2 separate regions of the Homo sapiens genome follow, and region 1 is linked to region 2. Evidence: promoter capture Hi-C in 16 types of primary human blood cells and fetal thymus (Javierre and others, 2016). All regions are on one chromosome and are shown on one strand. The core of a region is centred on a gene start or on the middle of the fragment in contact, and the rest is flanking DNA. Distances in the headings are between cores, read along the strand shown. Region 1 has its middle 14 kb from the start of APLN. Region 2 holds the start of UTP14A (UTP14A small subunit processome component).

Region 1 (6,695 bases), core at 2,801-5,300, 260 kb before region 2:
ACTGGTGGGAACATGGGGTTCACTGAGGGAAGAGCTCCTTGGGACAGCTCGAGGGCCAGACAGCCTAGGACAGTCCTGTAAGGATGCAAATGGGGCCTGGCCTGGCCTTGGAGACCCAGATGCTGCCCTCTGCCCTCACAGACTTCACCCCTGGTGCCTCTGGGTGGCAACTTCTCTCCCTCTCTCAGTGAACATGCATACGGACTATAATATGCTACACAGCGTGGAGCAAATATGCATACCCATTCGGTGTTCACACAAGCACATGCATGGAGCCCACGTATGCCCATGACCTGTAGAGGCATCCTCTCAAGTCAGTGGGGCACACCCACAAAATTGTTCAGACTCAGAATCTTGGAGCAGAAGCAATTTTAGAGCTGCCCCCATTAAAAAAGTCGTCTTTGATGAACGCCAGTCAGCCACTCCTCTACACACACTTTGGCGTTTGCTCGTTCTCACACCTCCTGCAGAACAGGAAAGAGGAGATGACCTCGGGAACTTTCTTAAAATGGCCTGTGCCTAGACTTGACGCAAGCCTGAAGAAGTCCCTGCAGTTCCAGGACTCAGCCAGCAGGGGGCAGCCTCTCATGACACACTGGGTTTCCCCCAAAGAATAAGCAGGCTTGGAGAAGAAAGAGAGGCCGACTGCAAAGAAAGGGAAACATATAAGAAGTTTCCAGAGTGTCCGGCCATCAAGCTGACCCAGATGCATGTAGCCAGCCACTCCTGTGGGTGAGGAATTCTCAGCCCCTCATATTCAGCTGGTGAATTGATAGAGTCTGGGGCAAGTTATCAGAAGAGGATGTCTTAGTGACCATAGTACATCCTGCTTGCCCAGCCTAGAGCCACAGAGGGAATCAGCCAGCACACAGGAGTTCAGTGGAATCTCTCATTCTGCAAGTCACAGCCTCTCTCAGGGCCTGCTTCGTTGTCTGTGAAATGGGTTTAACAATAAATCACATCTGCTTCCTCCCACCTTGGTGCTTTGGACACAAGCCCTGTGCTCCCTCTGCTGAGACCTCCTTTCTCCAGCTTAACCCCTACTCACTCCTGAGGTGTCAGCTCCCACTTCACCTCCAGGAAGCTTTCTCTGACCCCAGATCGTGCACTCAGTGATAAACTTCCTAGAGGCCTGTTTTTCGCCTCCAGGGCCCTTGCCACAGTTCCTGGTTAGACATTCGGTTGTGATTTTTGAATAACATCTGTTTCCCTCTCCAGGTATTAAGGAATGTGGTACAAAGTAGGCCCTCAATAAACATTCAGCGAATGCTGAGAAATGAATTCCCATAGCTCTTTTACAGATCAAAAAGCACTTTCACATGCAAACAGGGTGGTCTTCATGGTACCCGCTGAGAACGATGGGGTTTTTTCCCCGTTACACACACAGCACTCTCTACTGTACCAAACATTTTAACTTCAGAAACTTCAGTCACTAGAAGCCCGAGAGGGAGCCAGGGATTCTTACTTCCATTTTAGAAAAGGTAAAGCTGAGGCCTAGAAAGGTGAAGTGACTGACCCAGGCTTGGAACTTGGAGGAGTCAGGATGTTTAAGTCTCCGCATCCCATGCTGGAAGGTATGATCATTACATTCCCTCATTATCACTGTCAGCATCGTCACCTCCATTGTGGCTATGGCCATGCCTAGTCTGGTGAGGAGGTGTACAGTTGGCGAGCACAAAGGCTTTTGAAGGTGGCGGGCAGAAGTCTGGGTTCCAATTCTGGCCTCACCTGCAGGTGACCATCGGGGCTAGGAGAGCATCCAGGGAGGATTCATGGGGGAGGGGAGCCTTGGCTGGCAGTTGGAGGACCCGGAGAATTGGAGGAAGGTGGAGAACCTGGGAAGGGAAGTCTGGGGAAACTAGAAGAGCACTGGAAATGGGTTTTGGGTGACTTAGGCTGAGGCTTTCCCTGCTTCTGCTTCCTAAAAGATGGGTATGAAGCTCCCTCCCTCGCAGGTCCTGCTGAGGCCGGTGCGCAGGCTCAGGGCCAGGAGAACATCCCTGGGGTTGCGGGGGAGTGGTACAGAGGGCGCTGTGGCTACAACAGCTAATGAGGGATGTCACACCCTCACCACACACCTTTCGCTGGTGCCTCCCAGAGGAAAGGTGAGGACCAAGTCTTTCTCCACTGTTCCTCCTCCACTGTCCCTTGCATGGTGTCCTGCACAGAGTAGGCGTTTTTTTTTTTTCTTTTGCTGTTGTTTGTTTTGCTTGTTTGTTTGAGATGGAGTCTTGCTCTGTCGTCCAGGCTGGAGTGTAGTGGTGCAACCTCCGCCTCCCAGGTTCAACGGATTCTCCCGCCTCAGCCTCCTGAGTAGCTGGGACTACAGGTGCCCACCACCACACGCAGCTAATTTTTGTATTTTGTAGAGACGGGTTTTTGCCATGTTGGCCAGGATAGTCTCGAACTCCTGACCTCAGATGATCCACCCACTTCGGCCTCCCAAACTGCTGGGATTACAGGCATGAGCCACCACGCCTGGCCAAGGGTAGGCATTTTTTAGCTGATTGTTTTGGGGTAGGGGTAGGCCAAAGAGCTCTTTATAGGCTTGGGTTCTAAAAGTTTGGGCATAGATTGAGAGAAGGGGAGCTCCTTTTGAAACTTACACAAGGCATGGGACCTAAAACTTGACAGGCAATTTGGGAGTGGGAATGGGGGTGGGGCAGGCTGTGGAGCTGAGCTAGAGGGTAGCCCAGAGTAGAGGGAAGGATGAAAGAGGATAATCAGATCAGAAGGTCTCTGCAGTGCTGGAGGTGGAAGGGGCTGTGTGGTGAGATTCCCTCCTCCATCCCCCTGCACTCCTCACTGGGACCTTTTTCCTCCCTGCTTTGTTTATCCTCTCTTATCTTTCCATATCCCTCACATCTGAGGAGTTGGGAATTTCCAAAGGAGAGAGGAACTCCAGGCTTCCAGAAAGCTCAGGAGCCTAGAGACATGGGGGATGAAACCCCCCATAACGTATGCCAAAGTCACCAGCCTCTATCCCTACACCTGCTGGGGAGGGAGCCAGAGATGTCTCTGCCTAGATGGAAAAAGAGGCACCCTCTTTCCAACAGGCCTCTCACAGCCCCCAAATCACAAGCAGTTCTGTTGCCCTGGGACTGAGGGTGCCAAAGCGAAGCCCCTCCCCTACAGACGAGAGGTGACTGCAGCCCTGGAGGGAATGCTTGGCATTTCAGCAGTGCCTTTGCCTTCCTTTAAAGCAATGCCACCTTGTTTCTCTCAGTTCGTTTGCACATACCACAGAAGATCTTTAGACTAATGGCTTACCTTCTCAGTGACTCAGTTTCCTCAGCTATAAAATGGGATTGTGATGGGGACTGACTAAGTCAGGACAGGTGAAGTTCCTCAAACAGTGCTTGGCACATGAGAAGCGCTCTACATGAGTTTGCTAGGACTATCTAGCTATGTTCCTTAAGCGTTCACTTATCCTTTCTGAGTCCCACTTTCTTCATTTGTAAAAATAACAGGGCTTAGGGTACTGAATGATCTCTCAGGCTCATGTCAGCTCTGCCCTTCTATGATTCTGTGTGTTTAAGGTAGGGAAAGCAGAGATTGTCATCCTATGAAAATAGATGAGGGAGAACCAGGACCCCTGATAGATGAACAGACCTGCCTGGAGTCACACAGCCAGTTACTGACCAAGCTGGGGTTAGGATCCAGAGCTCAGAACCCCAAGTTTCACACCACCAGGCTAGCTCTGCAGCAGTGTGCCAATTTTTTAACATTCAGGGAAGATCAGAAAGCATTTAATTTGTGCAAAGGGAGAAGTATGGAATGGAGGTTCCAGCAGGCCCTGGGGTTATGGGAAGCTTGTGCAACCCACGTAACCCAGCAGTGGACTTCCTCACTGGCTTAGGTTCCCATTTTCCTGCCATATGCCTAATTCTTCTCCCAGAGCTCCTCCCTACAGGTCCCTGGGTCAGGTCCTGAATTGCCTCTGGAGGGCAGCCTGAATCACCCCCCACTGTTAGCTGGGACCCCAACAAATCCCTAGTCACAAGCAGGTGCTTCACATCTACCCACCCAGGTGTCCTGGGCAGGTGAGGAGGCTGAGACCCAGAAAGGGCCAAGGAAAGACTTTGCTAAGCTACCCAGCAAGCCCTGGGTAGAAGCAGATTCAGGACTGGAACCCACGTTTCTGAGCCCCTGGCCTTGTGCAGAAAGGAACCCCAATGGCCAAGCAGGTGTGCTGGAACAGGTGCCTGGCTCCACAATTCCAGACAGATCAGGTGCTAATGGTGAGCACTTAACACCTTTGGAGAGGCCTCCTGGGCTGCTGCCCAAGCTAAGCTTCTACAAGGAAAAATGCCGAGGACGTAATCTGTCCCTGGGGAGGCCCTAAAGGTTATCTGGGAGACCGGAAATTTCTAGTGACTGAGGCACACTCATGGTGGGAAAGAGGACCCTTAGCAGAAGCAGGGAAGCTATCATAGTTTGTTTTCTGTAGCCACAGACTGGGTAACTTATAAAAAAAATAGTTTATTTAGCTCACAGCTCTGGAGGCTGGGAAGTCCAAGGGCATGGCACTGGCGTCTGGTGAGGGACTTTTTGCTAAATCATGACGTGGTAGAATGGCATCACATGGCAAGAGGGCAAGAGTGTGCCAGCTCAGGTCTCTCTTCCTCTTCTTATAAAGCCACCAGTTCCATCATAGGGGCACAACCCTGATGACCTTATTTAATTTTAATTACCTACCAAAGGCACCACCTCCAAATACCATCAACATATGAATTTAGGGATTAAATTTCCAAAACATGAAGTTGAAGGATGCATTCAAACCATAGCAGCAGCTGACCTGAGCCGGGGACAGACCCAGGTTTGAAGCTCTACTCACCCATGAGTGGCTCTATGAATTTGAACAAGTGACCTCACCTCCATGAGCCTGATTTTTCATCTATAAATTGGGGTAATGATGGCTGCCCTGTCCAGTTCTCAGGGCTAGAATGAGGCTTAACAGAGATAATAATAGCTCCCACTTGGTAGGCTTGTAACATGGGCCGGGCACTGTGCCAAACACTTTCCCTGCATCATCGCGGTCAATCCTGACCACAGTGCTATAAATTGGGCAGCAGCATCCTGCCTAAAGCAGAAACATGGGCTCATCCAGATCAAGACCCTTGCTGCAAGGTCACACAGGTGAGTAAATGGTAGTGCCAGGATTTGAACCCTGATCTGACTCCAGACTTCCCCTTCCACTGGAATCACTTTGTTAGTATGATTATTATCAGAGGCCATCTCATAACCAGTGTATTAAATCACTTAATTCTACACCTTGCTGCAGAATGTAAGTCTTCCCCTTGGACTCCAGGCAAGGGTTCAGGGGCTGAGTTGAAGGGCTTGCTGATGCTTCATTTGAGACAGGGCTGGGAAGCCACCTGCTTTTATAAAGATTTTTTTGGAACACAGTCATGTCCACTGGTGTATGTATTGTGTATGGCTGCTTTTGCATGTGCCAAAAACTTTACCTGCATCATCACAGTCAATCCTGATCACAGTGCTAAAAAGTAGGCAGCAGCATCAAACTCAAAGAGGTTTGAGTTGAGATAGAGACCATATGGCTCAAAAAGTCAAGAAAACTATCTGGCTCTTTACAGAAAAAGTCTGTTGGCGGCTGATTTGAAACATTCAAGGAAGTGTCCTGGATGCGGCTTGGGCCTTTGGCTGAAGTCCAAGACAGCGGCAAGGGGAGTCCCTTGCTGGGCTCCTTCTCTGAGCACTGGCCACTGCATAGGAAAAGCTGGATTTTCAAAGGAGTCCTAGAGAAGAAGCCTTCCTTTCAAGAGTTACCAAGAAATGCTGGCTGAGTCAGCGGCCCTTCTCAAGCCAGGAGAGGAAGATACTGAGTAAATCTCTGCCATCTCCTTTGGCAGTTAGCTGGCACAGGCACACTCTGGTCAGAAAGAAACTTTGGATTGAGAAATTTCAGTTGAGTAACCTTTAGGCTTGGAGAATCGAATTCTATAAGGACTTCAGAATGGCTGCTCAGGCCAGGCCTCATGGTTCCCTCAATACGGAGGAGCCCAGCCCCTACAGGGGGTACCAAGCCAGCTAGGCCTACAGAAGAGTCTGAAATGTTAGATTTCTAAGCAGTTATGGCTCATTTTACACCACACCTGGGGTCCTGAAAAGCTGTGTGTGGTCTGAGTCTGTTTGCCTCCCTAATCTCTGTCATTTCAGAGGCTGCCTAATTCCGGATGGATTTGAAAGAGTGTTGGTTTTCAGATTCTCTGCCCCCACTCGTCAACCTCTCAGTTCAGGACCTCCGGTCCAGAAACAATCAGTTAAGTGAACTCCTATTTCTTTTCCTAAGCTCTGCATTTTGAAAAGCAATGCCCTACTCTGCTTCTGTTGTATTTATTTGGTCTAGATATCTCCAAAGGGTAGTAGCAACGCATATCATATGTTCAGCCTTCTTTTGGTTTGAGGTCTAATTATCTTTACAGAAGCCACCAACTTTCTTTTCCTTATCCCCTGCCCCAAGGAGGTCACACTTGGATCCACCCAATAGTATCCAGTTGACTACGTAGGTTCCATAGACCCTGGTGGCTGCTCCCCCTTCCTTGTCCCCGCCGTCTCTGCCCATCATCCTTTCACCAACTTAACCAAATGCTATTGTGCCTTCTAGGGCCTGTTTTTATCACTCAGCCTCTATTAGCTTTCCCTGATCCCACCAGTCCACACTGTGCCCTCTT
Region 2 (6,607 bases), core at 1,479-3,978:
GAAGTAAAACTGATAATGTGGGCAAACAGCTGTGGAGCATAAGGGGGAGGGGAATCTAAGATGACTCTCAGACTTCTGATTTTACTAACTGGGTAGTTGATGGGCCAATCATACAAATGGGAAATTCAGGAAAGGAACTCTGGTGGAAAAGATAGAAATTATTGGTCATTTTATGTTTGATGTGCTTGTGGGGCAAAAAGAATAGCCAGGAGGCAATCAGATATACCAGTCTGGAGCTCAAGAAAGAGATTAGGGCTAGAGATATAAATTTTGTTCTCATACAGCTGTTAAAGGCAATTTCACTTAGGAAGAGTATCTGTAATAAATAAAGAGGGCTTAGAGCAGAATTCTCGGAAACATCATCATTTAGGGAGTAAGCATATTAAAAGTATATTAAAAGCATCCAGCAGAGAAGACTGAGGAAGATGGTCATAGGGCTGATACCAGGAGAGAATGGTGTCATGAAATCTCAGGATGGAGTTTCAACAATGACAAAATTGTCTTTAATCCCACTAGAAAGTAAGCTCTAGGAAGCAATGGGACATATCTGCTTTGTTCACCAATGTATTCCCAATGCCTAGAGGCTTGGCACATACTAGATGGCCAAAAATATTTCATGAATAAGAAAACAAATCGGCTGGGTGCGGTGGCTCACGCCCATAATCCCAGCACTTTGGGAGGCCATGGTGGGAGGATCACCTGAGGCCAGGAGTTCGAGACCAGCCTGGCCAACATGGCGAAACTCCATCTCTGCTAAAAATACAAAAATTAGGCTGGGCGCGGTGGCTCACGCCTGTAATCCCAGCACTTTGGGAGGCCGAGGAGGGCGGATCACGAGGTCAGGAGATCGAGACCATCCTGGCTAACACGGTGAAACCCCATCTCTACTAAAAATACAAAAAATTAGCCGGGCATGGTGGCATGTGCCTGTAGTCCAGCTACTCGGGAGGCTGAGGCAGGAGAATCACTTGAAACAGGGAGGCAGAGGTTGCAGTGAGCTGAGATTGTGCCACTGCACTCCAGCCTGGGTGACAGAGCGAGACTCCGTCTCAAAAAAAAAAAAAAAACAAAAATTAGCCAGGCGTGGTGGCGCATGCCTGTAATCCCAGCTACACGGGAGGCTGAGGCAGGAGAATCACTTGAACCCAGGAGGCGGAGGTTACAGTGAGCCAAGATCGCGCCACTGCACTCCAGCCTTGGCAACAAGAGCGAAACTCCGTCTCAAAAAAAAGAAAAGAAAAGAAAAGAAAAGAAAAGAAAAGAAATCAACAGTTACTAAATGCCACACAAAGTTCTGGGAAGCCAAAGACTGAGAGGTATCCGTTTTATTTAGCAACTTTGGGTGTCGCTGATCTTGTCCAGAGCAATTTCTGTGGAATAATGGGGCAAAAGCAAAATGGGAATGGATTACAAGAATGAAAAGAACGGGCCGGGCGCCGTGGCTCACGCCTGTAATCCTAGCACTTTGGGAGGCCGAGACGGGTGGATCATGAGGTCACGAGATCGAGACCATCCTGGCTAACACGGTGAAACCCCGTCTCTACTTAAAAAAAAAAAAAAAATTAGCCGGGTGTGGTGGCAGGCGCCTGTAGTCCCAGCTACTCAGGAAGCTGAGGCAGGTGAATGGTGTGAACCCGGGAGGCGGAGCTTGCAGTGAGCTGAGATCGCACCACTGCATTCCAGCGTGGGCGACGGAGTGAGACTCCGTCTCAAAAAAAAAAAATGAAAAGAATGTTCTTGTCTATTATTTTTCTACAATCATTAATTAATATATATATATATTAGGCCGGGCCCGGTGGCTCACACCTGTAATCTCAGCACTTTGGGAGGCCGAGGCGGGCAGATCACTTGAGGCCAGGAATTCTAGACCAGCCTGGCCAACGTGGCAAAACCCCGTCTCTACTAAAAATGCAAATATTAGCCGAGCATGGTGGCGGGTGCCTGTAATCCTAGCGACTCGGGAGGCTGAGGCAGGAGAATCGCTTGAACCCGGGAGGTGGAGGTTGCAGTGAGCTGAGATCACGCCATTGCACTCCAGCCTGAACGACACAGCAAGGCTCTGTCTCAAAAATAAATAAATAAAATTCTTAAAAGTTGATGGGAGAAAAAAAGTTGTTTAAAAAAATTTTTTTAAGTTGATGGGAGGTGAGGAAGCGTAGTTACTGATGGCCCCTTCTTGGATAAAAAAAATCTTTTGACTCAGGAAATGAAGAACAAAGCTGCAATTACAAGGGATCAAAGGCGATTTTTCCTTAAATGGAAGGAAACTTGTTATGTTCACCATCGGATCTCCGGGGCCCGGCACAATCTGGCCACTTAATAGGCATTCAATAAACCCCCGAGCTGGCTTGTGGTCGGCTTGCAGGACGCCGTCGCACAAGGACGGGCGCTGTAGTCTTTCCTTCTGGATTCTGCAGTGACGAATGAAGGCGCGGGCTCAGCCCCTGAGAGCGCAGCACCGTCGCCCTAAGCTAACCCACCTTGGGCCACGTGGAAACCAGGGGCCAGGAGGACAGACACCCGCGCGCCAGAGAAATACGGGGTGGGTGGAGAAAGGAATGCCCCACCCGCTGACAGCCGTTTCATCTCAGGCCTCCCAGTTTTCTGCAGGCCCCTCCCTACACGGCTCCTGCTTCTCTCACGCCTCGTACGGAACGGAAGTGACGTGTACGTCGCGAGCGATTGACGGAAACAGAAATTGCTTTGCGGCCCGCACGGAAATTGCTTTCCTTCGGCTTCCGTTCTTGGTCCATGTGAGAGAAGCTGGCTGCTGAAATGACTGCGAACCGGCTTGCAGAGAGGTGAAGGGCAACGAGGGGAGGGGGGATTCTGGGTCTCGTTGGGGGCCGGGTTCCCCAGCTTTTGGGAAATGGGAGCCCCCCCTTTAACAGATGGCAGTGGTTCCCCTGAAGAGCTGGCCATTCGTTCCTATTTTCCGCGATCCAGCCTTTAAAGCCCTTTTAATTTAATTTCATTCGCTTACTCCGCTCCTCAGCTGTATAGCCGCATCCCTGTTGGTCCTGATGCTGTTTCTGCCTCCCCAGCTCATTTACTGTGTTTCACATTTTTCGTCACGTGGCCCCTTTTTCTGCCTCTGTCGCGGCCCGATTTAATCCTCTGCGCAGGCAGTGCAGGCGTTATAAACTCCCCGAATCTTGGAAAGCTTTGCTGATTGGAGTCATCCACCACGTTTTGGCTCCTGTGATGTTTTGTGCCCCCCCCACCCCGCCCCCGGAACTAAATGTAGTCCGTTTAGTAATGTTGGCTTTGCAAATACTAATAATATATGCTGTTAGGTAATGGTACATTTTATAATTTGTTTGTGGGTACCAATCTCCTTAGTTAAGCACCTACTTTACTAAGCAAGCCCCAGGGAAAGTGGCTTACCCAGCTGCTTTCGACCTGTTTCTCCATTCCTGGGAACAAGGATCAAGATAACACTTTTGATTAGGCTGCCTATCAATGAGTCAAATATATGGAGGATGCTTAGAAATATTAATCGTGAAACTGCCTTGCCTCCAGGGCTAGCTAGCAACAGCGTCTTTGGCCATATTATTCTAGGGTCTGACATTTTTACAGCTTCCCATAGGTCATAGGAAATGTTGTGCCAATCCCTGAAAAGTGATAGCTCTTTTACATGCAGTTTTGAAGTCAGGCATCACTCTTGGAGGTGATGCCTGACTTCAGTCTAAATTTCACATCTTGACAAGTTTCCAAAGGCATTCACGCTGCTTTATATATCTTCTGAGGGATAGGGCTATTCTGTGCTGAAATTACAATGTTTTCGAGATTGTTTTAATAGATTAGACATTGCTTCAAATAATAATATTTCTTTTTTTAATTTCGACTTTTATTATAATTAAGGGATACATATGCAGGTTTGTTACATGGGTATATTGCATTCACATTTCTCTGTTGCCTCTTTTAACAGCCTTCTGGCTTTGAGCCAACAGGAAGAACTAGCGGATTTGCCAAAAGACTACCTCTTGAGTGAGAGTGAAGATGAGGTGGGTGACAATTGCTAAACTGCCTTCAAAATTAGGGTAGAGAGCACATTCCTGGAATGGAAGGGTGTGACAATGTTCTATGTATTTGTTCAGGTCTCTCAAATAAATTGCAAATGGTTAGTGTTTCATATATAAGATACTGTATCATATTAAGTGCTATGAGGATTTGGAAACTAAGTTACAATCACTACCCTCAAGTTGCATAAGTATAATTTATAAGACCAACCAAAACAGGCCCGGGTGATGGCTCATGCCTGTAATCCCAGCACTTTGGGAGGCCAAGGCGGGCAGATCACAAGGTCAGGAGATTGAGACCATCCTGGCTAACACAGTGAAACCCCGTCTCTACTAAAAATACAAAAAATTAGCCAGGCGTGGTGGCAGGCGCCTGTAGTCCCAGCTACTTGGGAGGCTGAGGCAGGAGAATGGCATGAACCTGGGAGGCGGAGCTTGCAGTGAGCCAAGATAACACCACTGCACTCCATCCTGGGCAACAGAGCGAGACGCCGTCTCAAAAATAAATAAATAAATAACAAGAGATTTTACATGAGACTCAATTTCCATGTTGTCTTTTCCCTCCCCCTCATCCTGATTGTTTTTCCTTTTCTGTGTCTTAGGGGGACAATGATGGAGAGAGAAAGCATCAAAAGCTTCTGGAAGCAATCAGTTCCCTTGATGGAAAGAATAGGTAACGTTCCCGTCAGTTAGGGCAGGTTATATAGTCAATTCCGTGAGATTTCTCTGCAGCTAATATTTATTGAGTGCTTCATGTAAAGACCTTAATACCAGTGCCTAGCATATAGTAAGCATTATATAATTAACTGTTAGCTGTTATTAGTCTTAGTGCTATTATTGTAAGCATTTGCAGTCTTATTCCACACTGAAAATCTTTTAAAGCATTGAGTAGGCATTATTTAACCCCATTAGAGAAATAAATTTACTTACCCCCAAGGTCACCTGGCTCATAAGTTACAGGTTCAGGTGTGTTTGAATCTAAGTCCAATATGTTTTCCACTATGCTTACCTTGTAATAAAGAGAAGAGATGAGGGTTAGACAACCAAGTCCAAGTTAGGAACAGATCTCCTTGCTGCATCATGACAAAACATGACCCTAGAAGAAATACAAGAAACCAAAGCCCTGTTTGAAGAGAGAAGTGTTTGTCTCTCCCAACCCCAAGCCCCCATAAAATTTATTCATTCCTATTATATCGTTTTGCCTAATTTCAGGCGGAAATTGGCTGAGAGGTCTGAGGCTAGTCTGAAGGTGTCAGAGTTCAATGTCAGTTCTGAAGGTAAGTTGAACAAAGGAAGATACCCATGCATGAAACCTGTGGAGTTCCAAGGGCATTGTGTTCACCTCACCCCCCCTAGGAACTGTTTTTGATGTGGTTAATGACTCATACCATAAATACCTGGGAGAGTGGGTGAAGAAGTGTAGTCAGATGCCCTTCAGTTTCTTCCATCTCTCAAAGAAAGCCTAGAAGGCTGTGGTCAAGGTATCCTACAGAGTTTGATGAGATACTTATAGGATAGATGGACATGAATAAAGACAGCTGCCTCTTAGTAACTTAGTCATAATTCATATTTGTACAATTTCATTTTTATTTCAGTTCTCTTAACAATGCTTTGAGTTAGGAGACAGGCAAATATTCTCTTCAGCCAGAGCTCAGAGAGGTCACATTACTTATTCAAGGGCCTTTGCCTAGTACAGTATTTCTCAACCTTTGCTTTTTTATTGCTCCCCTGAGAGGAGCCTTTCAAGCCTTTTTTTTTTTTTTTTTTTTTGAGACAGAGTCTCACTCTATCGCCCAGGCTGGAGTGCAGTGGTGCGATCTTGGCTCACTGCAAACTCCGCCTCCCAGGTTCACGCCATTCTCCTTCCTCAGCCTCCCGAGTATCTGGGACTACAGGTGCCCGCCACCGCGCCTGGCTAGTTTTTTGTATTTTTAGTAGAGACGGGGTTTCACCGTGTTAGCCAGGATGGTCTGGATCTCCTGACCTCGTGATCCACCCGCCGCAGCCTCTCAAAGTGCTGGGATTACAGGCGTGAGCCACCGTGCGCGGCCTCAAGACATTTTTTTCCTCATTGTATCCCTCCCCCTGTGCCCCTTCCCCAGGAAATCAAGTCCTAAGGAATAAGAGTTTGTTGGACAGAGTTGAGCCTTGGAGGGACACAAAACATTGTAATATCTAAGATTTTTTTCATACTCTCCCAGAAAGAACCAATTTTCACCCTGGGGTGGCGGGGTGGTAAAATTGCCCCTGTTCAGAATACATGCTCTAATAAGCGGCAGCCATGGGATTTTATCCTAATACTGAGTCTAGATGCCAAATCTTTTTCACCCTGTTCACAACTTAGGCAGCTAGAATGGGTCTTGCATTTGTAGTAATCACTGGTGTAGCCTCCTAGGGCAAATAACAATGTATTCCAAGCGTACTTATTCAGTGGATATTTATTGTGTTTCTACTAGGTAGCAGTATCAGGAACTGTTGTAGATACCAAGGTTAAAGTAGCGAATAAGATGTGAGCTCATGGGGTTTACATTCTAATGAAGGGAGACAATAAGAGAGGATGATGCAGTAAAGCAACTAAGTGGCTA

Evidence for each region. Contacts are between HindIII fragments. The CHiCAGO score rates a contact against its expected background, and 5 or more counts as called.
Region 1: a fragment that was not itself captured here is called in contact with the fragment with the promoter of UTP14A in region 2 in 14 of 17 cell types (activated CD4 T cells, non-activated CD4 T cells, total B cells and 11 more); the score reaches 22.8 in activated CD4 T cells.

The regions. Positions count from the first base shown.
Region 1 is chrX:129,637,120-129,643,814 of GRCh38, forward strand. No RefSeq gene overlaps it. Among named protein-coding and RNA genes, the nearest start is that of APLN, 14 kb to the right of the region's middle. RefSeq lists a silencer at 483-652. The HindIII fragment of the contact is 481 bases long and covers 3,811-4,291 here.
Region 2 is chrX:129,903,436-129,910,042 of GRCh38, forward strand. UTP14A (UTP14A small subunit processome component) reads left to right here and starts at 2,729. Exons shown (of 15, transcript NM_006649.4): 1 at 2,729-2,801; 2 at 3,932-4,007; 3 at 4,625-4,695; 4 at 5,235-5,299. The coding sequence starts at 2,776. It overlaps LOC105373335 (a long non-coding RNA gene), which reads right to left. Exons shown (of 3, transcript NR_188631.1): 3 at 3,829-5,118. The HindIII fragment of the contact is 20,573 bases long and covers 1-3,161 here.